Regions from separate parts of the Homo sapiens genome. Here regions 1, 2 and 3 are each linked to region 4. Evidence: promoter capture Hi-C in 16 types of primary human blood cells and fetal thymus (Javierre and others, 2016). All regions are on one chromosome and are shown on one strand. The core of a region is centred on a gene start or on the middle of the fragment in contact, and the rest is flanking DNA. Distances in the headings are between cores, read along the strand shown.

Region 1 (7,704 bases), core at 2,684-5,183, 310 kb before region 4:
TGTAAGGGTTCCAAATGCTTCCACACAAAAATGGCTTTCTGTCTTGCCAAAACAACTAATAGGGGGTGACAAGTGTGCAGAGTATCTCAAGATTCGTGTCCTCCTCACTGTCTTTCCACATGCTCTGTCCCACCTGGAATGTCTTTCTATCTTCTTGCTAAATTATGTGCTTCAAATTTTTCAAAACAAGGTTCAATATTGCCTCCTTAAGAAAGTCTTCCCTTATTAATCATCCCATTTAGTCAATTACAACTTTAGTTGGCACCCCAAATGTCTACATATTCAACTGGCCTTTGGTACATATGCACAAGCTTTGCCCCTCTTGGCATGCAGCATGACAACATCATTCCCTGGTGTTCTACATGTAGCTTATCCCAGTCTGGATGCGTGGCTATAAGTAGATGGCCACCAAATTCACCAAAAGCAGCTTCCTGGTAGGGTTCAGTTACTCGATATTTTGGATCAATCCTTTTTATGAAACAAAGCTTACTTATTTCATTAGAAACAGAATGCCAAAACATGAGGGGGTGTTAGATACTTCAAGAGACAAAGCATTAAAGAAACAATATTCTTCTGTGAATGTCAAAAGAGAGGAGTCTTGTTTCTATTTTTTTTTTAGGCATGTATGAAAATAACTCAGTTTCTTTGTATCTCAGCCCATCAGACCCCAAACTTCCTAAAATTGAAAGTAAGTTGTCTGCTAGTCCAAGCTCTTCAGCCTCTTTAGTCCTGTCTCTTCCAGGCATCTTTAACTGTTGATGTATTAGACCCAAGCAGGCATTTTTGTAGGCTGGGAGGCAAATGAATAAAATAATGCTTTCTACCCAATCATCTCCCCTAGCCCATTTCAATGTCCCAAAGTTTAATTAACAGAACAGGGAAGCTGCCCTGGACTGAACTCAACACTTTGGAAGAGTCTTATTTCTTTAAAGGCAAAGGGAAATATATGAAATAAAGAGGGAGGATAAGGTTCCAAACTGCAAAAATCAGGGCCAAGTCTAGAAAAAGCGACAAAGGGCTTTAGTGGTTTTGGAGATCCATCTCAGAATTCAAGGAGGCCTCTCCTTTTGCCAGCCATTTGCGATACAATTCTTTTCTTTTTTTTTTTTTTTTTTTGAAGCGGAGTTTCACTCGTCACCCAGGCTGGAGTGCAATGGCACGGTCTTGGCTCACTGCAACCTCTGCCTCCCAGGTTCAAGCGATTCTCCTGCCTCAGCCTCCCCAGTAGCTGGGACTACAGGCGCACACCACAATGCCTGGCTAATTTTTTGTACTTTTTTTTTTGAAAAACAGGGTTTCATCATGTTGGCCAGGCTGGTCTCGAAATCGAACTGACCTCGGATGATTCACCCGCCTTAGCCTCCCAAAGTGTTGGGATTACAGGCATGAGCCACCACGCCCGGCCACTGCCATACAATTTCAAGGGCAGCTTCCTCCTGTTCCTCAAGGAACACTGTTATCTCTGTGTGCCTCTGGAGTCCAATCCTAAAGCAAACCAGGCTTTCCAAGACTTCTCTGTTGTCCAGAATAACAAAGAGGTGTATTGAGTTTCAAACCAATCTAGATACAAACCTGCAGCCTGAGGTGGGGGCTGAACAGTGGCCCTCTTCCGGGGTGTCAGCGCTGGCTGGATGGGAAGGATTCCTGGGTTCGGCTGAGTCTGCCCAGCTTTAGGCCTCTGGCGGGGTGCAATTGAAGTCTCTGTGGTGGGAATGGGATCTGTCAGTCTAGAAAGGGAAAAGAGAAAGGTTCATATTAAAGTATGGGAAAAATGGAAGGGAGTGGGCAGAGGACACAATGCTTCCGCTTCCACATCGACCCAAACCTTCCAGGTCTGTTTAATCGATGCTTCCCAAAGAATCTCCCACAGGATGCCATTGTTACTAGACCTTCTGAAAGTAGGCTTGGTGGGCAAATACATTTTTAACACACTGATCAAAATATACTGAGTGGCTCTCCTTCTAGCAGAACTTTTCATGTGCGAATATGCAAGGACAATCTCAAAAAGAATGCTATATAGTATTCTCTTTGCATTCTCAAGCTTATTTCTTCTTGTGGCGCTTTTACCTAGTACCTCCTAGGATTTCCCAAAATACCCTTTGGGTAATAATGCAAAGAGAGGTTTGAGGCACATGGTTTTCAGATGCGAAGAGGATTCAAACTTGGCTGCAACTAGCTGTTAAAGTGGTCTCTCTAAAATGAAAAGCATGCAGATGAGTGAATCCAACATGGGAACTGGAAGGAAAAAGTAAATAATTCAAGTCAAAGGGTTTAAAAATAAAAAGGAAGTGTCACAGAAACTCCATTTCTTCCAATATACATACTATCTTTTTTCCACAGTAACAGAAGTTTTAGCTGGGCACAGGGTCACCCAGAGTAAAAATCACATTGCCCAGTCTCTTTTGAAAACAGGTGTGAACCTGTTTCTAAGTCCTGGCATTACATGAGATGTAAGAAGATTATCAGGTGGCAGTTTCCAGAAACCATAAGAAATAACTGGTTCAAGTCCTCTGTCTTCCTCTTTGACTATTCCTTGATCCTGCTGCTAGGAGCAGAGATGTTGCCATATTGATCCATGCAGCCATAGCTACACTGTAGGAATGGTGATGTGGTTAGCTTGAAGAAGTCTAGATCCCTGAGGGCCTCATGGAGCAGAACTGCCATGCTGGCCTTGGACTACTTACCTCCAGACTTTGTTTACTTGAGAGAAAAAAATAAACATCTATCTTCTATACGCAGCTGTCACTTTGGACTTTCTGTAATTCACAGCCAGATCGACACTTTCAAACTAATATAGGGAAGACTGCTTGCTCCCTGTGAGGGGTGCAGAAGCCCAGGTGCTAACTTCCACTCATTTACAGTAGTCCAGGCAGCTAGCTACTACCTAACTCAGATCAGAGTTGGCCGTCCTTTGAAACTCCACTTTACAGAGTATAACTGAGGTTAGGCCAAAATTAATAAGTTTCAAGAATATTTCCAAAGCATGTTTTGTCAAAATATTTCCAAAACAGCCTCCATGAATGTAAAACAGGAAGCAAAGCAGCTGGCCTCATGTCCTTCCCATGACATACCTCCAAGGTCCATCCTGGGCCCAGAAACTTTGCACTGGCAACCTGTTAGAGGGATGCTCTTGTGCCGGTTGGGGAAGTGGTGATATAAAGGCTATCACATCTTGGGGGCTAGAACCTGGGCAAGGGATGTGGGAAGAAAAATGGGACACGTGCTGGAGAAAAGAAGAAAGGTGTAAGAAAGAAAAAGCTGGCTGGGTGTGGTGGCTCACACCTTTAATCCCAGCACTCTGGGAGGCTGAGGCGGGTGGATCACTTGAGGTCAGGAGTTTGAGACCAGCCTGGCCAACATGGCAAAACGCCGTCTCTACTAAAAATACAAAAATTAGCCGGGTGTGGTGGCACGCGCCTGTAGTCCCAGCTACTCGGGAGGCTGAGGCTGAAGAATCACTTGAACCCGGGAGGCAGAGGTTGCAGTGAGCCAAGATCACGCCACTGCACTCCACCCTGGGTGACAGAGCAAGACTCCATCTCAAAAAAAAAAAAAGAGGAAAAAAAGAAAAAGCCAAGGGTGAGGGAGGTGAGCAGGCTTCTGTAGAAACCCAAACAGCACAACCTCCATGTTGATCATCTCTTGAGGGGAACATATTAGAGCAATGGGATCTGGAGCCAAAGAAAAATATATCTGAGTTCTAGCTCCTCACTAAGTAACTGTGTGATAATGGGTATGTCACTCACCCTCTTTCAGCTTTGGGTCCTTTATGTGTAAAAGGGAAAAACATATGCCTACATCATAAGGCAGATGTGAACATCAAATGTTATCAGTAACTGTCAATCTGTTTTATTAATTGTAGAATGTCCAAAATATTAGTTTGTATGGACTTCAATGAGTATGTTTTGTGGAGTGGAGTGGGGAAAGGGATCATTGCTTACCCTCTGCACATATCATGTTTGAGCCTAGTACAAGACAGCCATGAGCACAAAGGACTAAGCTACTTAAATCAGCCCCAAAACAACTTCCAAAGAGGTGAGCATGGCAGAATTAGTGAAGGAAATGGACAGACTACAAAGTAACAAGTTTTGTTTGTTAAGCAAGTTTGCTACGTTTATTAAAAATCAAAGTCTCACTACTTTAGAGGCACATCTAAAATAACTTCATGTACACAGCAGGCATTTAATAAATATTAAAGAACTTTTTAAGATACAGGTGTTATTTGACTGTTCAATTAAAATTCACATATTCCCATCCAGGGTACTTTGTTGACGCAGTTTGCTGCTAGCACTTACTCGTGATGGTGGTAGAAAAAAGAGGAGTATAAATATCTCCTGCGCTACCTCTAGAATCTGCCATTTGGAAGGGGTGGCAGCCATGCGAAAGTGCTTTGTAGACCTTCATCTACAGGGAGCATAAAACCCCAATGCTCAGCTGCTGCATTCCCAAAATGCAGCACTAAATGCAGCACTGCTGTGTGTTTGCCCTGGTGCCATGCTTCCCATAGGTTGCTGCCAGCCCTAACCTCCAACCCACAGGAATTCCTAGGAGATGAGGGACTATCTGCTGGCTGACTGGCACAAGGACCCCAACACCTTTGGTGAGTCTTACTTAAGTTGTGAGACAGTCTAGGTCACTTCCACCCATGCTTCTTCTCCCTCTGTCTGGGTCAGACTTGCATTGCCTTCCGATGGCACTCCCAGCCTTTCCTGGCTCCCTCCCTGTTTTCCCTCACATGGGCATTTCCCCAAATAACATCTTCGTTTAATCCTCTTTTGGCATCTGCTTTTTGGAAGAACCTAGGTTGAACAGACTGTGATTAGCTAAGACCCAGAGAGTCTTCTGCTGTTCACTGACCTGGTGCTTTGACCTGCATTTTCCTAATGTGGTTGGAGCCATAGAAAGTAAGAAGGAAAGGGAGGTTGAGTGTTAGGGTGGTGAATGCAGCTAACCAAAAGTCAGGACACATGTTTAGGATATTTTTTACATTTTTTAAAAAGAGATAGGGTCTCACTGTATTGCCCAGGCTGATCCCAAACTCCTGACCTCAAGTAATTCTCCTGCCTCAGCCTCCAGAGCAGTTGGTACCACAGGCACGTGCTACCATGCCTGCCTAATGTTTAGGATACTCTTGTACTAGCAACATTCTTTTTTTGTTTTGTTTTGTTTTGTTTTGTTTTGTTTTGTTTTTGAGATGGAGTCTTGCTCTGTCGCCCGGGCTAGAGTGCGGTGGCGTGATCTCAGCTCACTGCAACCTCCACCTTCCAGGTTCAAGTGATTCTCCTGCCTCAGCCTCCCAAGCAGCTGGGACTACAGGTGTGTGCCACCATACCCAGCTAATTTTTGTATTTTTAGTAGATGGGATTTTGTCATGTTGGCCAGGCTGGTCTTGAACTCCCGACCTCAGGTGATCTACCCTCCTAGGCCTCCCAAAGTGCTGGGATTATAGACGTGAAACACCACGCCTGGCCGTACTAGCAATATTTAAAGTCTGCTGTTGCCTCATCTCTGAATGCCCCTGAGCCTATTCCCATGCAAAGAAAACAGCTTCAGAGTTCTTGATTCTCTTTCAAATGTAGATCACAATATTTCATGATATTCCTTTTTGCATTCCCAAAGAACCGTTTCTGCCTAGGCAAGACAGAGCTTGCTTTCCTGATCTGTGCAGCCCCTGGTCATGACAGCATACATAAGAATCAAGAAACACAGGCATCATTCCCTGCTGCTGTGGCAATCCAAGGAGGACATGTGTTCATGAAGGCATTTCTTACCTGGCCTTTGGCTGGGTCTTTTTTGCAGCTGCCTCACTGGCTTTCACTGGTTCAGGAAGCTTTGCAGGAATGGGAGAGTTCTATAGAATTGCAAACAAAACAGAACAAAACAAAAGGACATCACAGATTTCTTTGTTAAAGAATAAGCAGCCTGACTGGGACTGAGAGCTGATGGAAACACATTTTGGGATCTTCTGGAGCAGCTTCCAGGCCCTGAGCTCTGTCTGGTAGAGGGAAGGAAAGTTAACCAAATGCATATCAGACTCAGCCACAGTCAGGGAAGCAATGTATCTGAGAAGAGGAGAGAGTAGCTTGTGTGCAGCACACATTCCCGGATTATTCTCTACCTTCTGTACCATGGTGAGTCACTGGGGCTTGATCTCAGTACCCTTCTCCTCCTATAGCACAGCTTAGAAGTGATGCTATGAAAGGAATGGGAAGGAAATGTCTGTAGCTGGTATTATTCTGGATCCCAGACAGATCTTCGTTCGAGCTTATCAATGTGTCAAACCAGGGTGCACTGAGTCTGCAAGTTAGAATGCTCAGAGAAAACCACAGCCACCTCTGTGTATGGCTGCTGAGCCAGTACCCTTCCCAACATGTGAGGCACTACTCAGTCCACAAGCCAAGGAGAGTTCCTCTGGCTTGAAATCTGCACTATCCATCTAATAATGCCTCATGAGGGAGCACCAACTAGCTGTCCCTAACCCTAAAACAAGTGCTTACCACTACTGAGTACCAAATGACATAAGACTTGTGAGGTGTACTTTTAAAAAACTAGCTACCAATCTGAATGCTTCCACTTAGATTTCACATTATTTAACTTTATGAATGGGAAAGTGGGACTACAAAAGAAGACAGTCATGTTTGGTTACTGCACAGTATCCCTCGTTTTAATCTGGGAAACCAACACACAATACTAGTTATAAAACTGGCCTTTTAGGAGGGTCCTCTCGCTTCCTTCATGTTTCCAGGTGGGGGGAGATTTTCTGCTAGAAAACTTCTAGCACTTCCTCTTCTTCAAGCATTCCTCTCCCAAAGGAGAAGAGTTGACTTCTGTGACTGTTAAGACTGTAGAAAAACTGAGCTGGTCCGGTTTGCTTTGCCCTCCTTCCTTTAAAGAAGAGCTGGTCCCCCAGGAATCAGGTGTTTACATTTCAGTCATGTGGGTCTAATGCTAGGGAGCCTGACTGGTCAAGCTGCATCTTCTGACTCAAGCTTATTAGTAATAAAGCCAATATTCTGAGCTCCACATGGATGAACCCCACATCTGATTCCAAATGTGAGAGTGAAAGAGGAGCAGCACCCTTAAGTCCCAGCAGTGAAATCAAAAGTTCATTATTGGAGGAACTAGCAAGAACATTTCAGATCAGAATCTATTATTATAGCATCCATTAATAAAATATTTAAGAAAAATAAATCACAATATGACATGAAAAATATGCAAGGATTTTTAGTAGAGATGGGGTTTTGCCATGTTGGCCAGGCTGGTCTTGAACTCCTGACCTCAGGTGATCCATCCTCCTCGGCCTCCCAAAGTGCTGGGATTACAGACGTGAGCCACCATGCCCAGCCGTACTAGCAACATTTGAAATCTGTAAAAAGGACATTTGCAAGCATTTTGCTCTGAAAACTGAGTGCAGAGTTTAGGATTACTAAATGTAGAAAACATTCTTATGGCTTGATGTGCTGGAAGGACAGAGAAAGAGGAGTGTGAGTTATAAATGGCCAACAGCAGAAGCAAAATCAAGAAAGCTCTGCTGCAAGGAAGGAGAACGGGGACAAGGGGCGTAGGTTCTAACAGGCATGGGGGCATGTCCAAGGCATTGCCTCGGGAAAGTAGCCTGCCTGTAATCACCTCCAGGTGACTACAACAGGCATGTGGCTCTCAGAGAACTAGAAGAGTTGACAGACATGAAGTTGGTCAATCTTC
Region 2 (6,811 bases), core at 1,723-4,222, 260 kb before region 4:
AGAAATCTCTCTGCTGTCACAATAATAAATACTTGTCCTACACACTATTGCTTCTTTCAAAAATAATAATTGTGCTGGAAATCAAAACGCTCTTCAGTTGAGAGGGAAAAGAAATGAAACACCCCATGCTCGATCCTGAAGCATCCCTTGCCTAAAGGAATGGAGAGCCTCTTGGGCATAAATTGTGCTCATCCCTCTAATCCACCGGGGCCACAATCTCCTAGTAAGTGATGAGCAAACAGAGCAGCAGAGGTCAGCCGGAGGGAGCAGCATCGGTGCTCACATGTGTCAGTCCCCACCCATGCTACAGACCTTCAAGCTGTGGCTCTGATCATTTCAACCAGGACACCATATGTTAGTGGATTACATTCTCCAAAAGAGAATGGGAGACTCAGCAAAGCTGAAGTTCCGGCTGACATTCTCTCAGCTCCCAAATGTTAATTCGAGAACATTCCAGTTCAACTTCATGCTTCAAAGCTTACACAGTTTTCCACACTTACTGCTTTTGTAGAAAGATCGGGTTAAGTAACTGTGAATCCTGAGCACTTTCTAGTGTAATGATGTGAGTTTAGTAGCCAGGTTATGGAATACGCACTGGCATCAAAGGTATATAAATGTTTTCAACTTTTTTTTTTTTTTTTTTTTTTTAAGACAGGGTCTCGCTCTGTTACCCAAACTGGAGTGCAGTGGTGCAATCATGGCTCACTGAAGCCTTGAACCCTCAGGCTCAAGTGATCCTCCCAGCTCAGCTTCCCAAGTGGCTGAGACTAGAGGTGCATGCCACCACACCCAACTAATTTTTAAATTTTTTGTAGAGACAGGATCCTGCTATGTTGCCCAGGCTTGTTTTCAACTCTTTAGGTTTCCTTAGAACTGGTCTCCAGACACAACTACTTTTTCCAGGTCATCCTATTCTGCCCTGACCCTCCTATGTTCTGAAAGATGGGCTCTCATGCTGGAAAGCAGGCTGACGTTTTCTTAGCTCCCAACCATTAGTTACAGAGCATTCTAACTTAACTTCGTGTTAAAGCCTTTCCTCTGACATTCAGGCTATCTGACCACACAACTGTCATCCATCAGCCCCTAGGTCGTGGTCCTTCAATCAGGACTGGGCACCAGCTCACAATATCCTCCCCACCCCAACTCCCACCATTGCCAAGTTGATTTCACTGAGTCTTAAGAATTCTATCCCCAAACCCAGAATCCATCCCTTCTACTGCACCCCTGATGCCCCTTAGCTCAGGCCTTCCTCTTTTCTTACTGAAAAACTAAAATAGAGTCATAAGTTTCTGTGCCTCCAGTCTCTTTCTAAAACTTGTATGGAATGACTCCTCTTAAAAGCATTCATTAGTCCCTTCGAGCCAGAGGAAAGTCCAAATTCCTTAATGCAGCAGAATATAAGAGCCTTTATACGTTTCCCCATTTTATTATGAAAAATTTCAAACATACAGTAAAGTTGAAAAGATCAAACTGCAAACATCCATACACCCACCACTTGTAGAATCTACAAGTATTAACATTTTGCTATACTTCTTTTATCAGCTGTTTATCATCCATCTATCCAAACATCAACTCATCTCATTTTTGATGCATTTCCCAGTCAGTTGCAAACCTCAGTGCACTTCCCCCTAAATACTTCAGCATACATATCTTTAGTATTCAGGGTTCATCATTCTTTTTGGGGATGAGGGTAAATAAAATTTATTTACAGTGAAATGTACAAATCTTCAGTGTGCTATTGGATGAGTTTTGGTAAGTGAACACACTCAGGTAACCCAAACCCCCATCAAAATATAAAATCTTTCCATCTCACACAAAGTCCCTCAGGCCCCTTTCCAGACAATCCCACCCAAATCCTCCCATAGGCAACCGCTGTTCTGATTGTTTTCATGTATTATTAGTTTAGCCTACTTTAGAACTTCAGAAAAATAGACTCATATGGTATGTGCTTTTTTGTGTAAGGATATTTTACTCATCATAATTGTTTATGTTGTTGAATGTATTAGTAGTTTGTTAATTTTCATTGCTGACTAGTGTTTCATTATTTGAATAAATCTGTTTGTCCTCTCCCTTACGGATGGACACGTGGGTTATTTCAGATTGGGGCTGTTATAAAGAAAGCTCTAAGAGCACTGTTGTACAAGTCTTTTTGTGCCATATTTTTATTTCTCTGGGGTAAATACCTAAGAGTAGAAGTGCTGGGTCACTGGATAGGTATATGTTTAATTTTATAAGAAAGTGACAGAGCTTTTCTTATACCAACAACGTGATTGTACCATTGTATACTCCCACCAAAAATGTATGACAGTTCCAGTCCCTTTATAATTTGAATATTGCCCTTTCCTCACTCAGCCTCATCTCTCAATACTCCCTCTTCCTCACCTCTGCTCCTCCCAACCCAACAAACTTTCAGAACTTTAACCTTTTTGCTGCTTTATTCTCAGGAGGTTCACACATGCTGTTTCCTCTGCCTGGAATATCCTGTCTCAGTCTTCTGCTTGACAAAATGAGTTTACAATTGTTAAAATAACACCTCTTCTGCAAAGTCCTCCCTGTCCCTGCCAGTCACCCAAATTTTCAGATTACCATACATGTGGCCTGAAGCTCTATTTTGTTGCACTTATCATAATGTATTGTGATTATCTTGGATGTGTTAATCTCTCCACTAGACAGACAAGGCAAAGAGGGAACCACTCTTTTCTGCCGTAGAAATGATACTTGTTATTCCTACCAGTGTAAGGATTTTGGATACTGTGAACCTATAAAAACAACATTCTAGGCTGTTCTCTAGGTAGGGCACCTGAAAAATGAGTCACCAAAGAAAATAAAACTAGCAAGGAGAGCTTCTTATTTATCTTGGAATCCTCAGGGCTAATACAGTGCTTAGCACGTGGTAGATGATTAATAGATGTTTGGCAAATTAATAGCACATCCAATCATGTTGCTTCCCTACTTATAATTCTCCTCTAGCTCTTGATCATCTACAAGATTAAATCTCTTAATATGATGTACAAGGCCAATCATAATCTGGAACCCACAGTGAACTCCTGAGAGTGCCTGGCCAGTGTTCTCTGATGCCTCTGTGCTTTTCTGTATGTACCCTGTACTGGAATGTCCATCCCCTCTTTAACTGGTAAACTCACAGCTCTAAGTTTGGTGTAGATCAAACCAGGACTTCTCTGTGAACTTTCACCCAACAGAATGCCCACCCCCATGCCCACCTTGATTTTTTTACCCTGATTATATCCCACTTGTATGCATTCTAGTCTTTCTTGCTAGGACTATATTCTCTCACAGGGCAAGGATTTTATTTTTATTCATTGTACGAAACACATTGGCCTAGTTTATCATACTCTTCACCCTATGCTAAAATAATGATTAGAGATGTATTATGTCAAGTGATCCTCTTTCCCTCCCACAGCTAACTGGACCAGGAGAGGACACCTGGAGTGCATTCTCCCTTGAGAATCCGAAGTGATGACCTAGGAACTGTAATCAAATGGTGCTACACAACCATGTAGACTAGGCTGATGGCTGCTACTGTCAGCCATGTGTGTTCCAGAGAGACAGACAGAGAGGCAGACAGAAGAAAGACCTGGTAACTTCCAACACCCACAAAATCTAGCTTCACTTCCTGCTGTTGGGTTCTGGGAGGTTCCCTTGTACTTATCCAATACACTCCTTTTTACTTAATCTAATCTGAATTAAATTTCTGTTCCTTGCACCCAATGACTCTAAGTCACCTTGCACCAATATGTCTGTAGAACATATGAGCTCAATAATATGAGTTTCAATAATTTTAACAATTACAGGCTTTAATAGAAACTACCCAGAACAGAGTGTTAAAATATAATACTAAAAATTACACTTGATGAGTTAGAATTTTTAAGATAAGGACTAGATTTACATTAAAACAGTACTTGCATTAGTATACTGAGACCAAGGAAGAAAAATGGTCAAATACCTATTTGGGAAAGGACAGACACAGAGAAGTGGACAGGGGTACATGGCTTGCACTGTTACCTTTCTTGAGCTGACGGATCAGTGTTAGGGAGGACAGGAGCCAAGATCTCTGCCACTCAGAGCACTCATTACCTGGGAATGTTGTGAAGATGGTTTTCACCTGGGATTATCAGAAAGCAATCACAGAGAAGAGGATTAAGCCCTCAAACGGGAGGAAACACAGGCTGGAGTCTTTCATATCAGATGAAATAAAAGCCCAGCCACAGACAAACCTGGCAAGGCCTGTGAAGAAGGTAAGTTTCCAAGAAGGACCAAGGAGCATGCCAGCACCAACTGATGAACTGAATTACATCAGGGGAAAACTTACTCCACCTTTGGTGTGAAACCAGGGTCAGGACTAGGGTGAGGGGAGTGAGGCACTTGCCCTGAGCACAAAGGGACAGACTCAGAATTACTGATTTTTTCTTGGTCTTGGGCTGCAGGGTGGCTGAGCACAACACTGTTACTGATCCTGTCTTTATTTTAAATTCTAATATTTTGTTCACCATGGTTGTTTGCATTAATTTTTATTTTTAAAAAACTGAGGCCAGGCATGGTGGCTCACACCTGTAATCCCAGCCGAGGTGGGCAGATCACCTGAGGTGAGGAATTCGAGACCAGCCTGGCCAACATGGAGAAACCCCTGTCTCTACTAAAAATACAAAAATTAGCCAGGTGTGGTGGCACACAACTGTCATCCCAGCTACTCGGGAGGCTGAGGCAGGAGAATCCCTTGAACCCGGGAGGAAGAGGTTGCAGTGAGCCGAGATCATGCCACTGCACTCCAGCCTGGGCAACAAAAACGAAACTCTGTCTTTAAAAAAAAAAAAAAAAAAAAAAAGCATACAAATATTCTTTATCTTGATTACTGAGTCTTGAGTGCCCCTTAAATTCTGCACTTGAGGCGAGTGGCTCACCCCAGTCCTGGCTGTGTGAAAATGCTGTATGCACAAGAGAGAAGTCTGCCCAGGCACTGATCTCTCTGTCGTCCTCTCACTGTGCTTCCAAAAGACCTGAGAGGTCAAGACATTCCTCCGGGTAAACAGAAACCTAGTGACTCCAAGGAAGTGAGAGCTGGGTAATAGGAAGAGAAACAAAACTGAGGAGTCAGTTTCTGGCTCTCAGTGGAAGCTCCAGCGATGCAGTAAGCTCCAGGGATGGCCGACTCAGCCCTCTTGGACAAAGCTGAGATCAGACTTGACTCAGGCTCCAAATAAAACATAAAGAAACCCAGCTTCCCTGAAGCAGAGACCTAGCATTAACAACCTAAAAACCAAATGAGTATAAACTCATCAACTAGATTGATAATAAATGGGTACCAGGCAAAACAGAACAGAGACAGAATGTGGGCTGGGGAGGAAGGTGGGTCTTCCATAACCAGAGTCTTGGGGGCCTCAACAAAGGGTTGAAGAGAGAGGCCACGAGGTCAGTGCAGAGCAGTCAGAAGCCTAAGGAAAAAATATCTGAAGCTTAATTAGGAAAGTGCTCATTCATTCAGAAGCCAGGACAGGGCACCAGGACAAACCAAGGTGTCACACGGTTTAGACAAGATATATGCTAAAACAAGGAGGAAAAGTAGCTCTGAAGAAGAACAGGGAATCCCACCTGACCTGGAAGGAAGACGAGAAGCATTCCACCCAAGTATCTAATGCTAGTGGTAAGGCTACATGTCAAAAAATATTGAGAAGAGGGAAAGGAATGGGAGCTGAGTAATCCATAAGCTGCATCGGCAAGTAGTCTCAGTGAGGCAGAAAGACCTCTGGTAGAATGTTGGCTGGCGTGTGCCTGGAAAGCAATGTGGCAATATGCATAAAAACCCAAGAGATCTTTCAACTCCTAAATTCCACTTCTAGGAATCCATCTTAAGGAAATAACCTGAAATATCCACAAAGTATGTACAAAAATAGTTAAGACAGGCCAGGTTTGGTGGCTCACACCTGTAATCCCAGCACTTTGGGAGGCCGAGGCAGGCAGATCACTTGAGGTCAGGAGTTCGAGACCAGCCTGGCCAACATAGTGAAACCCGTCTCTACTAAAAATACAAAAATTAGCTGGGCGTGGTTGCGGGTGCTTGTAATCTCAGCTGCTTGGGAGGCTGAGGCAGGAGAATCGCCTGAACTTGGAGGGTAGAGCAGTGAGCTGAGATCATGCCACTGCACTCCAGCCTGGGTGACAGAGCAAGACTCCATCTCAAAATAAAAATAAAAATAAAAATAAAGTCAAGACAAAAAAACTATAAACATAAAAAATAGAAGTCACTTAAATGCCCAATGAAAAGAGATTAGAGCCAGGCATGGTAGCTCAAGCCTGTAATCCCAAGCACTTTGGGAGGCTGAGGTGGATCACTTGAGGTCAGGAGTAGGAGTTGGAGACAAGCCTGGCCAACAGTGAAACCCCATCTCTACTAAAAATACAAAAATTAGCTGGGTATAGTGGTGCACACCTGTAATCCCAGCTACTCGGGAGGCTGGGGCAGGAGAATTGCTTGAATCTTGAATCCGGGAGGCGGAAGCTGCAGTGAGCAGAGATCACACCACTGCACTTCAGACTAGGTGACAGAGTAAGACTCCCTCTCAAAAAAAAAAAAAAAAAAAAAAGAGAAGAGAAAGAGAGAGAGATTGGGGCTGGGCATGGTGGTGTATGCCTGTAGTCCCAGCTACTTGGGAGGCTGAGGCAGGAGGATCGCTGGAGCCAGGGAGTTCAAGGCTGCAGTGCACAATGATCCCACCTGTGAATAGCCACTGCACTCCAGCCTGGGCAACATAGCAAGAGCCCATTGCCTTAAAAAAATAAGAGAGAGAGAGAGATA
Region 3 (7,298 bases), core at 2,881-5,380, 300 kb after region 4:
AGGCAGAGTGGGCGATGCCACTGGTAAGATACAGAGAAAGTACTACACACAGTGGCGTTGCAAGGACAGAGCAGTTCCTCCCACAAAGGGCATGCAGTAGGCTTTGGGAAGAAACGTGGCCAAGTCGGGTCTTCAAAGGTGAATAGGATCTAGATATTCAGAATAAGAGGGCTTTCCACAGGCTCAGTGAATGGGAAAGGAAAGTGTGGCTGATTGGGGAAAGCGCTAGCACAGGGAGCAAGAGATGGGGCGTGGCTGGGGAGGAATGGAATTGTAATTCTAGCCTCACAAAGGCTAGAGCCAGCAGGGCCTTGGGATCATGTGGGGAGGAAACCAGAGATGTGTGGAACAATTTGCTGAAGGCAGAACCAGGCAGGGAAAGGGCAGGGTCAGGTTCGTACCCTTGCCTCTGGCCACCAGGGCCAATGCTCCTTCCCTGCAGTAAACCCGATTAATCTCCTCAAACTCAGGTGCCATTTCCTTGGAATAGTATTTACCGCGGGGCGCGGTGGCTCACGCCTGTAATCTCACGCTTTGGGAGGCTGAGGTGAGAGGATCCCTTGAGCCTAGGGGTTCGAGACCAGCCTGGGCAACATAGCGAGACCCTGTGGTTAAAAAAAAATTAAAATTAGCCAATAGTGGTGGCACGCGCCTGTAGTACCAGCTTCTTGGGAAGCTGAGGCAGGAGGATCACCTGTGCCCAGAGAGGGCGAGGCTGCAGTGAGCCATCATCGTGCCACTGTACTCCAGCCTGGGCGACAGTTCGAGACCTTTTCTCAAAAAAAGAAAAAAAAAAGTTGTTCAAGTTGTGTAGTGCACGGGAGGAAAGAAGTATGACAATAACATAGGACAGCAGCCGGCTCTTTTTTTCATCAGGATGTGGAGAGTGGGCGCCTTGGGAAGACGAAATTGAGTATGTGCGGGGGAGGGGTCATATGAAACAAGGTCGGGAAGGGGGCGGGGAGAGCTGGGGCTCTGGAGGAGCTTGGGGCTCGCGCTGCGGGGGAGGAAGCGCCTTCCGCGGTCGCTGGGGGGAAGTGGTTAGGAGGAAGCACGGGCAGTGGAGGGGACTGCTGGAGGGTCCCATCTGGGAAAGCAGGCACGGATGCGGGGACATTTCCGCCCGTCACCCTGGCAAAGCGCTCGCAGGGCTGGAGGGACAGAGTTCTCAGATCCAAGTAGAGAAAACCGGGAACGGTTCCGGCTCTGGGGACTGACATTCATCGCGGCAGTTTCTGGTGGCAAAACAGAGGAAACAAAGGAATGATGAAATGAACTGAGCTGCCTTCATGCCCCGGATGAATGTTCAGCCATTAGAAAAGAGTGAATCCCAGCTGGGATTTGGGGTTCCACGGTGTACTAGAAAAGCAAAACAAAGAGAAGCGCCTACTAGATGCCATCTTGGAAAACAAAAGCAAACGTGTGTGTGTGTGTGTGTGTGTGTGTGTGTGATGTTACATGGGCATGGGGAAATTACGGAAGTAAATACTAATGCTTGTGGCCGGGCGCGTGGCTGACGCCTGTAATCCCAGCACTTTGGGAGGCCGAGGCGGACGGATCACGAGGTCAGGAGATCGAGACCACGGTGAAACCCCGTCTCTACTAAAAATACAAAAAGTTAGCCGGGCGTAGTGACGGGCGCCTGTAGTCCCAGCTACACGGGAGGCTAAGGCAGGAGAATGGCGTGAACCCGGGAGGCGGAGCTTGCAGTGAGCCGAGATCGCGCCACTGCACTCCAGCCTGGGTGACAGAGCGAGACGCCGTCTCAAAAAAAAAAAAAAAAATACTAATGCTTGTGTAAATTGGGATGGTGGAAAATGAGGAAGAGGGCGGCAGGGGAATCCTTAGTACTTACAGAGAAAACGGAGCAAGTGTACAAGCACGCCAACCCCCCCGGTGCCCAAGCTCGGCGCTCACGCGGCTAGGATGACGCCCGTGGGACGCCCCAGGGGCCCTGCTCGCAGCCACTCTGCTCAGGGTCATTTATAGTCTCTCCGTTCTTTGTTAAATAAAGACGGTGAGACACGGACGGGCTGGAGCCGGCAGGGGTAGTGGAGGGCAGAGGGGACGGGTCGGGGCGCCCCTCGCTCCTGCCACGCTGCCGCCGCCCCAGACAAAGACAGCTGCGTACGGCGGGAGCGCAGGGGCGCCTGCGCGCAGGGCCTAAATCGCCTGTCCCGTCTCCCCCTGACGCCCACACACCCAAGCGGCAGCCCACTCCCCTTCTACCCCGCAGCCATTTGCTTCCCACCCCTTGATTTTCTTTTTTCTTTTCCCCTCCCCTCAGCATCCCCCCAACCTCCTCTGATACACTTTGGCTAATTGTCTAATGAATTTACCTATTCTAGGTATTTCGTATAAGTGGAATCATATAATATTCGTCCTTCTGTGTCGGCTTATTTTGCTTAGTACAAGGTTTTTTATTTTTTATTTTTTTTTCTTTGAGACACGGTCTCGTTCTGTCGCCCAGGCTGGGGCACAGTGGCGCTCAGCTCACTGCAACCTCCACCTCCGGGTTTCAAGTGATCCTCCCACCTCAGCCTCCCAAATAGCTGGGACTACAGGTGCGCTGCCACCACTGCCTAGCTAATTTTTGTATTTTTGGTAGAGACCAGGTTTCGCCATGTTGCCCACGCTGGTCTCCAGCTCCTTAGCTCAAACGATCCTCCTGCCACAGCCTCCCAAAGTGCTGTAATTACAGGCGTGTGAGCCACCATGCCCGGCCACTTAGCATAATCTTTTCAAGGTTCATCCCTGCTGCAGCACGTATGAGAACTTCATTTCTTTTATTGTATTTGTGGTAATATGTACACAACATAAAGCTTATTTTAATCAATTTTTAAGTGTACAGTTTAGTGGCACTAAATAGTCACGTGGTTGTGCACTCACCACCATCATCCATCTCTAGAACTCTTCCATCATCCTAAACTGAAACTCTGTACCCGTGAAACAACTCCCTCATTCCCCTCTACCCAGCTCCTGGCAACCACCATTCTACTTTCTGTCCCTGTGCACTTGGGAGCATCACCTTTCTGGGACATCTGCAACGGTTCTCTGGAGGATTGTCTCCCCTTTTTTAAAAATTTATTTTCTTTTCTTTCTTTCTTTTTTTTTTTTGGTAGAGAAGGGGTTTCACTTCATTGCCCAGGCTGGTGTCCAACTTCTGGGCTCAAGGAATCTGCCTGCCTTGGCTTCCCAAAGTGTTGGGATTACAAGCATGAGCCACTGTGCCCCGCCTGTGGTCTCATTTTGGAGGGCAAGAGGGATAGAGATAGCCATAACCTGGAGAATATTGAGATGTGGACAACAAGGATGACAAAATTTGGTCCTATGAGAAATCATCTGTGAGGAAGAGTGGAGAGAACTGAGCTTGTTCAAGACAGTGAGGTCCTGGGATGATCTCAATTCATGTAAGAAAACCAGGAAGCAAGGAGGTTTCAGTTTATCAACAGATTTAAAAGGCGCAAGCCTTTTGATATAACTAGAGAAGAGAAGACTCAGGTGATCACACAGACTGTCTTCACCCAAGTGAAGGATGATTATGTAGGAAAGTGGATAGAAGATGCTGTCAACAGAAATGTAAACAGAATCATGTTAACAATTTTTCAGTAGGCACTTTTTTTTTTTTTTTTGAGATGGAGTCTTGCTCTGTTGCCCAGGCTGGTGTGCAGTGGTGCGATCTTGGCTCACTGCAGCCTCCTGGGTTCAAGCGATTCTCCTGCCTCAGCCTTCCGGGTGGCTGGGATTACAGGCATGCCATCATGCCCGGCTAATTTTTGTATTTTTAGTAGAGACAGAGTTTCACCTTGTTGGTCAGGATGGTCTCAAAACTCTTGACCTCAGGTGATCTGCCTGCCTCAGCCTCCCAAAGTGCTGAGATTACAGGCGTAAGCCATCACACCTGGCCAATTTTTAAATTAATAATGAGAGGCTGGGCATGGTGGCACACACCTGTGATTCCAGCTACTCAGAAGGCTGAGGTGGGAGGATCGTTTGAGCCCAGGAAGTTGAGGCTGCAGTGAGCTGTGTTCACACTAGTGCACTCCAGCCTGGGTGACAAAGCAAGACCCTGTTGAAAAAAAAATTTTTTAATAATGAGATATCTGACATTCTTTTTTTTACACTTGGTCTCTGAAATCAGGCTGGCTACATGTGAAGTGCTCTATAGCTACCTGCGGTCACTGTATTGGACAGTGCAGGGTTGGAAACTGGACTTAGGAGTCAGGGCTGGGTTCAAGCCCCACATTCCATCCCTTACTAGGCTGGGTAACTAGGCACATTACTTAGCCTCTCCTATTTCTGTTTCTTCATCTACAAAATGAAACTAAAAATAGTACCTACTTTATAGGGTAATTTTGTGGATTAATGGCACATGAAGCATATGGTGCATGTTCAGTAAATGTTGGCGATTATTAGCAGTAAATTTGGTGGTTATTGAATTAGTGACATTGCAGTATCACTGTTAGGGTGACCTCCATTCCCATCAGATGATGTGGCTTGAAGCTATTCCAAACGGGCAAGGTTAAAAAACAATAGGCAAACTGGGAAAACCTATTTGCAACACACATGAAAACAAAATGTTGTTATTCTTGCTATGTAGGAAGTGCTTGCAAATAAATAAGAAAATGAATACCAATGGAAAATTCAAAAGAAACAAACATCTGAAGTGATTTTTTTTAAAGACCCACTTTAAATAAGTTCAACTCTCCTTGGAATCAGACATAAAAATAAACAAAAGACATTTTTTGTTGTTGTTGAGTAACAGATCAACAGCCAGAATTTGGTGGCACCTAATATTGAAGAAGGTGTGGGGAGATACCTTCTCTTTTTAAATAAAGATTTCCTGAAGTTTCCATTGTTATATCTGACCACAGACTATCCAGAGAAACAAGCTGAGTTCTTGCTTCAAGGAGGAACTAGCCAGAGAGCCTTTTCTACCCACTTTTTCCCTTGTCCAGATAAAGCTAAACAGCCAACAAACCCCTCCTAGCAAGTTGACTTTTTTCTTGTCATGTGTGCAGACTCTGCACATTAGCTTTGCTAATAGTCCTTTACCACAGGTGTTGACATTTCACGTGGCTTGAAATAGCCCCCAGCATTGTTCTACATTTGGACAGGGCTGACATACTTAAGCCACAATACCCCCAGAATATTATTAGGCTTCTGGCTACCTCCTTCAGGAATGTTTTATCTGCCAGCAGGATTGGCTACATAATTTTTGGGGCCCAGGGGAAAATGAAAATATGGGCCCCTTTCTCATAAAAGGATGAAAAAAGCCCTTTCATTTTTTCTACAGTCTCTCTCTCAACCTGTCATGATGTTTTTATTTACTATTTATTGTTGTACTCCCTTGGACATGGAGATACTTCAGAGGTCAGTGCAGGCCCTCACAGATGCCCAGGACCATGCCGCAAGACAGCATGCATTTTCCAGTTTGGGAAAGCTTTTTTTTTTTTTGACACGGAGTCTCACACTGTCACCCAGGCTAGAGTGCAGTGGTGCGATCTCCGCTCACTGCAAGCTCCACCTCCCGGGTTCACACCATTCTCCTGCCTCGGCCTCCCGAGTAGCTGGGACTACAGGTGCCCGCCACCATGCCTGGCTAATTTTTTGTATTTTTAGTAGAGACGGGGTTTCACCATGTTAGCCAGGATGGTCTCGATCTCCTGACCTCGTGATCCACCCGCCTCGGCCTCCCAAATTGTTGAGATTACAGGCGTGAGCCATGGCGCCCGGCCCAGTCTGGGAAAACTTGATGGGGAGTGGGGTGAAGAGACTAATGCTTTTTTTTTTTATTCAAGATGGAGTTTTCACTCTTGTTGCCCAGTGCAATGGCGCAATCTCGGCTCACTGCAACCTCCGCCTCCCAGGTTAAAGTGATTATCCTGCCTCAGCCTCCCATGTAGCTGGGATGACAGCTGCCCACCACCATGCCCAGATAATTTTGTATTTTTTTTTTAGTAGAGACGGGGTTTCACCATGTTGGCCAGGCTGGTCTCGAACTCCTGACCTTAGGTGATCCACCCACCTCGGCCTCCCAAAGTGCTGGGATTACAGGCTTGAGCCACCACACCCACCCTATTTTAACCAATTTTTTTTTTTTTTTTTTTTTTTGAGACGGAGTCTCGCTGTGTGGCCCAGGCTGGAGTGCAGTGGCACAATCTCGTCTCACTGCAAGCTCCACCTCCCGGGTTCACGCCATTCTCCTGCCTCTGCCTCCCAAGTAGCTGGGACTACAGGCGCCCGCCACCATACCCAGCTAATTTTTTTTGTATTTTTAGTAGAGACATGGTTTCACCGTGTTAGCCAAGATGGTCTCGATCTCCTGACCTCATGATCCGCCCGCCTCGGCCTCCCAAAGTGCTGGGATTACAGGCGTGAGCCACCGCGCCCGGCCCCATTTTAACCAATTTTTTAAGTGTAGTTTAGTGGCACTAAATATAGTCACGTGGTTGTGCACTCACCACCATCATCCATCTCTAGAACTCTTCCATCATCCTAAACTGAAACTCTGTACCCATGAAACAACTCCTCCCTCATTCCCCTCTACCCAGCTCCTGGCAACCACCATTCTACTTTCTGTCCCTGTGCACTTGGGAGCATCACCTTTCTGGGACATCTGCAACGGTTCTCTGGAGGATTCTGTCTCCCCTTTTTTAAAAATTTATTTTGTTTTCTTTCTTTTTCTTTTTTTTTGATAGAGAAGGGGTCTCACTTCATTGCCCAGGCTGGTGTCCAACTTCTGGGCTCAAGCAGTCTGCCTGCCTTGGCTTCCCAAAGTGTTGGGATTACAAGCGTGTGGTCTCATTTTGGAGGGCAGGAGGGATAGAGATAGCCATAACCTGGAGAATATTGAGATGTGGACAACAAGGATGACAAAATTTGGTTCTATGAGAAATGATCTGTAAGGAAGAGTGGAGGGAACTGAGCATGTTCAAGACAGTGAGGTCTCGGGATGATCTCAGTTCAGGAGGTTTCAGTATATCAACAGATTTGAAAGGAGCAAGCAGGCTGGGCGTGGTGGCTCACGCCTGTAATCCCAGCACTTTGGGAGGCCGAGGCGGGCGGATCACAAGGTCAAGAGATTGAGACCATCCTGGCTAACATGGTGAAACCCCGTCTCTACTAAAAATACAAAAATCAGCTGGGCATAGTGGTGCGTGCCTGTAGTACCAGCTACTCGGGAGACTGAGGCAGAAGAATTGCTTGAACCTGGGAGGCGGAGGTTGCAGTGAGCCGAGACTGCGCCACTGCACTCCAGCCTGGCAACAGAGCGAGACTCCGTCTGAAAAAAAATA
Region 4 (6,858 bases), core at 2,411-4,910:
AAAGCATCTACAAATCTCTTTTTTTAGGTTTTGTCCATAGCATCAGTTGATCCTTACTAAGTTTTTCATGGGAGACTTCCTTCATCACATCTTATGTTGAAATCACTTTCTGTAGTCAAAGTATACCAAAACCAATTTATCTGAACTAAATTCTAAAGTATGGTTATACAAACCATATACATCTGGTTACCAAACATAAATGCTGAACATTCCATATTATTATAGTTAATGTCTTAATCCAGCTTGCAAGTGAATGGAAAAAAAAATAAGCTTCAAACTAGGTATTCTGGGAATGATGTAATGCTCTGAATTTAGTATGATATAAAGAAAACTTTTTTGTGCTAAAAATACTTTTTAAAATCAATTTTGTTGATTGTAGTAATTTCTATTTGCACTGTGCCTTTCAACTCCAGAAACATTCTGAAGATGTACTTGGATTTAATTAAAAAGTTCACTTTGTAAGAACGTGGAAAAATAATTTTAATTTAAAAATGGTGTTTTTAGGCCGGGGGCGGGGGCTCACGCCAGTAATCCCAACACTTTGGGAGGCCAAGGCGGGTGGATCACCTAAGGTCAGGAGTTCAAGACTAGCCTGGCCAACATGGAGAAACTGCATCTCTACTAAAAATATAAAAATTAGCCGGGTGTGGTGGCTGGTGCCTGTAATCCCAGCCACTCGGAGGCTGAGTCAGGGAGAACTGCTTGAACCCAGGAGGCAGGAGGCAAAGGTTGCAGTGAGCCGAGATCACGCCAGCCTGGGCGACAGAGCGAGAATCCATCTAAAAAAAAAAAAAAAAAAAGTGTCTTTAAAGTGAGGTATAGTCTTTCTCTGATCCACTTTTCACCTTCTGAGGTTTTTCATCTTGGCCCCTGAAAGGAGCTATTTTTGAAGGACTTGTGTTACTCAGTTTCTACAGGAATTACAAGATAAGAAAAAAAAAATCATATTTAGTCTTATGCGTGCCTACTGGCTAATGTTCACATATGCCAAACACTACTCAATAACATAAAATAATGTATGAACTTATTCTCTGGAAATGAGTGATGCCCTCTGCTCTAAGTAGACCATTTATATTAAATATCATAAATGTATAAAGGACATTCATATTCTTATAGTGGGAATACTTGCCTTTTTTGTTGATTTTATAGCATCCATTGTATTTTGGTGAGTGAAATAATAAGAATTTTTTAGTTTAGTGTTGTTTATTATAAAAGCTACAGCTACTGGTAGAAGCTACTTATGTGAATATTTAGTCACTCCAGTTACTTACAGGAAATAATACTACCACTTCAATGCCTTCCCAGAAGACCACAGAATCTCCACATCAGCTTTGTCTTTGGAAGCATGGTGATTTTTTTGGTAGAAGTTTTATCTTTAAATGATATGTAGCTTAGCCAAAATTTTAAAACAAATAGCATTGATTCACCAGAAGATTTCTAGAAGGTGGGATAAAGTCACCCTGGACGAATGTTTGTCATATTGAATTAGCATGACTTTGAGATATAATTATGTTTGTTTTTCCCTCCCACTGTCCACTTACATTTATTCAGTGGGCAGTTCTTCCCCTTCTTCAGATGTAAATTCAGATAGAGTCATGACTTTTCTGTTCACTCTTAGGTTTTAAAGTCCTACTGTGTAGTCCCTTAAGGTCATAAAACAGTGTCATTTTAGTAAGTAATATATCCAGTCAAAATTGCAAGCTTGATTTACAGTTGATGCTTCTTCCCTCACTCACCTCTGGCCTATTGCAAGTAGGAAGCTGGTTTCTGGGGAAAGGGAGACCATGGGCTTCTCTTCTTTTTCCACCTAGGTTTCCTTCAATGTTCTCCCCCTGCCCCAACCTACCATGTCTGGGTTGTAGCAAAGAAGAGAGTTAAGGGGAGCAGGAAAGTTGTTACCTGACTGTCATTGCTGTGGTGGTAGAGGATCAGCCCTATGTGACCCTGACAGACTAAAGTTGATTCTTGTGGGCATTCTTGTGGGTTCCTTTGTCAACCTCATCACGCTACTCACCTGAGGTTCCTCTGGCAAGGCAAATGTGTACTCCTTTTTCAGCCTCTAGGAATTTGGTGACTCTTTGAGGTTCTCAGTGCTGAAGTTCATTGCCTTCCTCCCAGGCCTGTTGGGCAGGACCTAAGCTGTCTCATGGTGGTCCACATCTGCTCCATGGGAAACACCTGCACGTTCTTTGTGCTGGCAAATTCTGTGTATGCAAGCTGATCCCTCTGCAGCCATTATTCTCCGCCTCCCACCTCCACCCCAAGCTGCCTCGGCTAGCCTCTCTCGGTTCAGATTTCTCATGCATGAATCAGACATTAGTCCACGGGGACCCTCAAACTACGTATACTGCCAATGGGAGTCTAAATTGGTACCTTGATGCAATCAACCCAGAGAGCAATTTGGTAATAGCTAACAAAGTTGCAGATTTCGCAGCAAATTCACTTTTGGGAATCTGCTTGGTGAATCCATTGCACATGATGTTCATTGCTGCTCTGTAAGGCCGTTAAAGTAGAAATAACCTCTCTCACTAAGGAATGTAAAAACAAATATGGGTCAGTCATACAATGAGCAGTGAAAATTATCTAGCGATTGACCAAATGGATAAATCTTGAGAGTATAATTTTGAGAGAGGAGAAAGGTGCACAATGAGAGGTACAACTATGATTCCATTCCATGATATGTCTAAACATGCAAAAGAAAATATTATTTATGGGTATGCATATAAGGACATGCATGGACATGATATACAACATTCTCAGCACAGTGATTGCCACTGGGGAGGGAGACAGAATGAGATGGAGGAGGTACGCAGGGGCTTCTGCCTATATGTATTGTTCTATTTAAAAAAGAATGAATCATTGATTACACCTCAATAAAGCTGGGAGGAAAAAAGAATGAAAGCAAGTCTGATAAAATTTCAAGCTAGTGGTCGGTCCACAGGAATCTGTATTACTCTATTTGAAATATTTTCATTATTTTACTTAAAAAGTAACAGAAGGGAGTCAGGGAATGAACGCTGGCTGTCCGGAGTCCATCACAAGAGCTGCTACTACTCCAAGCAGACACTAGTAAATTTTGCTAGGGCCTCCTGAAGGCACTTTTGAGTCCAGACAGTCATGGTGCCAGACCCTATTCGGACATCCCACTGGCACTTGAGAGGAAAGGAAAGGAGTGCCGGGAACGTTCCCATAACTTAACGGGTTCCATTCACGTCTACAGCAGGGGAGGGCTCATGTTAAGGAAGCCCAGGAATCCAGCATATCGCCTCATCCTAGGGCCCCCTCTCACAGGAGGCCACGCCCAAGCAAGCAGAGCGTGGCCCCAGCAAGCGCCGAGCTCCCGCAAGGAGACCAAATAGCTTCGGGGTTTTGCCACTAGCTTAGCACAGGCCCATAAGCACCGGGGACTCAAGGCACCTTTGTAGAAACAATGAGTGACTGGAGTCCCAGGTCTTGCCACTACAGAGGCGCGTATGAACCACGGTTTAACACTACGTCTACGCCGAAGTTCGGGTTAGTCAGAGGCCACGCCCACCGCAGGCCCGAAAACACCAGCCTGCACTGGCGCGCCGGATTGTGCGCAGGCTCCACCTGCCACGCACGCACGCCTTGCCCCGCCCCTTCCGGAGGCTCGCCGTACGCATGCGCCCTCCGTCCCGCGCTTTGTTGCGAAAGCGAGGGGGCGAGGTGCTGCGGTGCTAGAGCGCGGCGCGACCGGACGCTGCGGGCGGGGAAGAGGATGGAGACTGTGGCGTCCGCTGCAACGGTTGGGGCTGCGCGTGAGAAGGTGGCGGTGTAGGCACCTGCGCTCGGGGAAGGCTGGCGGCGGCGGCCGAGCCATGGCGGGAGACCCCCTTCTCTGGGCTCCCTGAAGTCTCGGGGAGCCGTGACCCATGGGATCGTTGAGCAGCCGGGTGCTGCGCCAGCCAAGACCAGCCCTTGCCCAGCAGGCGCAGGGTGCCAGGGCGGGGGGCTCGGCCCGGAGGCCGGACACTGGAGACGATGCGGCGGGCCACGGATTCTGTTACTGTGCGGGCAGCCACAAGCGCAAGCGGAGCAGCGGGTCCTTCTGCTACTGTCACCCTGACTCGGAGACGGACGAGGATGAGGAGGAGGGGGACGAGCAGCAGCGGCTCCTCAACACCCCTCGAAGGTACGTGGGGGCACGCACCCGCGCGGACCCGGACCCGCACCTGTTGGGCCTGGGGCCGAGCCGGCGCCTCGTGCGCTTGCGGGGTGCAGCGCTCCCCAGCCTATGGAGAGGGGACGTGCCCTTGACAGGGTGAATGTGGAAGCCGGCCCGATGCGGGGCGGACTGGGGAGCGCCTTGGGAGACGCCAGGTGTTCCGCATTTTCAACCACAGACGCTTCCAGGGTGTTGTTACAGCCCCAAGATGAGGATGAGAAACGCCAAGCCCGAGCTCGCGTCTCGTTAAACCTTAGAGACGCCCGGCTGGCTGGCCTTCCCAGTCCACCTTTGCCCTCTCAAGTGGGTAGCCGCAGAGTAAGTTGTTTTGCATCCGGTTGCCTTAGTACAGACACTAAATGTAATCTCTGAAATAGGCACTCTTATTGTCGCCCACTCAGTGGAGGGTAAGTAATTGCACACAGGAGTTCTTGTTAATTGTAAAGGTGAAGTTTATCAATAGTGTACATTTGTTCCTAACTAGGAACAGAGTCTGTGCAAGTTTCTAGTAGTTGATGAAGTCGTTGACCGTGGATGTACTGTATGTAGGGCGGTGCTGCTGCAGCTTGTTTAACCCCTTTTTTTTTTTTTTTTGGATGAGTTGAAAGATGGAATATTGACTTGTGACCTGGAATGTAGTTTATAGGTAGAATATATGCTTACACAAACAATTTGGTTTTTCTGCTTTTGTTTTTAAAGGTTATTTGGTAGGGTCACACATGAAATTTTTTAAATGATTTCTTTTTCTTTTTGAGACAGAGCCTTGCTCTGTCACTCAGGCCGGAGTGCAGTGGTGCGATCTCAACTCACTGCAACCTCCACCTCCTGGTTCAAGCGATTCTTGTGCCTCAGCCTCCCGAGTAGCTGGGACTACCGGCGCGCACCACCACGCCTGGCTAATGTTTTCTGTTTTTAGTAGAGACAGGTTTCATCGTGTTGGCCAGGCTTGTCTCAAATTCCCGACCTCAGGTGATCTGCTGGCCTCAGCCTCCCAAAGTGCTGGAATTATAGGCGTGAGCCACTGCGCACCCGGCCTAAAATTAAACTTTAAAAGCAGATTCAAAAAGGTTTTGCTATACAAGTGTTATATATTGTAAAAAAGGAATCATAGATTAAAAACTTAATAGTTTGGTTTATAAAACCTTTTGTACCTTTTTTTGTATGAATATTTGTATTTATTATACAAAAATGTACCCCTACTGTGAATACTATTCAGTAACTTTTTTAATTGTTTGTTTGATTTTTGGAGCTTTTTTCTAAAGGAGTCTCACTATATTGCCCAGGCTGGTCTCAAACGCCTGGGTTGAAGCGATCCTCCCACCTAAGCCTCCCAAAGGGCTGAGATTACAGGTGTGAGCCACCATGCCTGACCCTGTAACCTTTTTGAAGCGTCAGTGTAGCATAGTTTTTTTTTCCTTTGGAAAAATTTTTCTCTATTTTGAGACAGGGTCTCGCTGTGTCGCCCAGGCTGGAATGCAGTGGTGGGATCATGACTCACTCTACCTCGACCTCACAGAATCAGGCAATTCTCCCACCTCAGCCTTCTGTGTAGCTGAGACCACAGGCATGCACCACCACACCCAGCTAATTTTTTTATTTGTAGAAACAAGGTCTCACTCTGTTGCCCACCCAGGCTGGCCTGGAACTCCTGGGTTCAAGTGATCCTGTTGCCTTGACCTCCCAAAGTGTTGGGATTACAGGTGTGAGCCACCATTGCCAACCTATAGCATAGTTTTAAGAGTTCTGAGTTCTTGGCCAGGTGCAGTGGCTCATGCCTATAATCCCAGCACTTTGGGAGGCTGAAGCAGACAGATCACCTGAGGTCAGGAGTTCAAAACCAGCCTGGCCAACATGGCGAAACCCTGTCTCTACTAAAAATATAAAAACTAACCAGTCGTGGTGGCAGCTGCCTGTAATCCCAGCTACTCGGGACGCTGAGGCAGAAGAATGGCTTGAACCTGGGAGGCGAGGTTGCAGTGAGCCAAGATCGCACAACTGCACTCCAGTCTGGGTGACAAAGTGAGACTCTGTCTCAAAAAAAAAAAAAAAATTCTGACTTCTTGTCTGTATTCTGCACTTAATAGCCTTATTTCCCTCATATGTAAATTGGAGATATAAATACCTGCCTTTTAGGCTTTGACAAATATGAGAACAAACAAATGCACAATGTCTAGAATGTAAGCATGCAGTAAATATGTCTCCTTGATGAATTGGCCCCTTTATCATAACAAAATGTTCATCCTTCTTTATCCCTAGTAATTTAGCCACTACCACATACATACATACATATATACATTTATTTATTTATATTTAGGGGGTACAGCTGCAGGTTTCTCACATGTATATAACAAGTAGTGGTGAAGTCTGGGATTGTAGTGTATCCATCAGCCACTTTCTTTTGATAAATGTCTGAATGATATCTTATTTTCCCTCCTTTCACTTTTTACCTGTGTATATTTAAAACAGATATCAAGTAAACAGCATATAGTTGAGTCTTGCTTCTTTTGTCCAACAGGACAATCTAACCTTTCAATTAGTAGTTAGACCACTTATATTTAACGTAATTATTGAAATATATGTCACAGTGCATTTGAAGGAGAGAAATCACACAGCAATTTGAATACAGGAAATTTAATATAAACATTATTAACAAGGCACAGAGAATTAACTAC

The links. The method cuts DNA at HindIII sites, captures the fragments that hold promoters and counts their contacts. A CHiCAGO score of 5 or more calls a contact.
Region 1: a contact is called between a fragment that was not itself captured here and the fragment with the promoter of GMCL1 in region 4, in 1 of 17 cell types (non-activated CD4 T cells). The highest score is 5.4, in non-activated CD4 T cells.
Region 2: a contact is called between a fragment that was not itself captured here and the fragment with the promoter of GMCL1 in region 4, in 3 of 17 cell types (naive CD8 T cells, activated CD4 T cells and total CD8 T cells). The highest score is 7.2, in naive CD8 T cells.
Region 3: a fragment that was not itself captured here is called in contact with the fragment with the promoter of GMCL1 in region 4 in 1 of 17 cell types (neutrophils); the score reaches 5.3 in neutrophils.

The regions. Positions count from the first base shown.
Region 1 is chr2:69,519,262-69,526,965 of GRCh38, forward strand. AAK1 (AP2 associated kinase 1) reads right to left here. Exons shown (of 22, transcript NM_014911.5): 10 at 5,772-5,851; 11 at 1,573-1,727. SNORA36C (small nucleolar RNA, H/ACA box 36C) reads right to left here and starts at 910; the gene lies at 783-910. The HindIII fragment of the contact is 3,789 bases long and covers 2,040-5,828 here.
Region 2 is chr2:69,567,801-69,574,611 of GRCh38, forward strand. All of the region lies in intron 2 of AAK1 (AP2 associated kinase 1), which reads right to left. Among named protein-coding and RNA genes, the nearest start is that of SNORA36C, 51 kb to the left of the region's middle. The HindIII fragment of the contact is 4,994 bases long and covers 476-5,469 here.
Region 3 is chr2:70,123,191-70,130,488 of GRCh38, forward strand. LINC01816 (long intergenic non-protein coding RNA 1816) reads right to left here and starts at 2,126. Exons shown (of 2, transcript NR_024444.1): 1 at 1,856-2,126; 2 at 846-1,235. RefSeq lists enhancers at 1-614, 615-1,420 and a silencer at 1,747-2,041. The HindIII fragment of the contact is 2,621 bases long and covers 2,821-5,441 here.
Region 4 is chr2:69,826,000-69,832,857 of GRCh38, forward strand. It overlaps GMCL1 (germ cell-less 1, spermatogenesis associated), which reads left to right and starts at 3,661. Exons shown (of 14, transcript NM_178439.5): 1 at 3,661-4,153. The coding sequence starts at 3,894. It overlaps LOC124906021 (a long non-coding RNA gene), which reads right to left and starts at 3,532. Exons shown (of 2, transcript XR_007086846.1): 1 at 2,015-3,532; 2 at 1-779. ANXA4 (annexin A4) reads left to right here. Exons shown (of 13, transcript NM_001153.5): 13 at 1-1,113. RefSeq lists enhancers at 2,697-3,618, 3,013-3,102, 3,619-4,539 and silencers at 3,513-3,742, 4,123-4,202, 4,150-4,325. The HindIII fragment of the contact is 7,336 bases long and covers 1,700-6,858 here.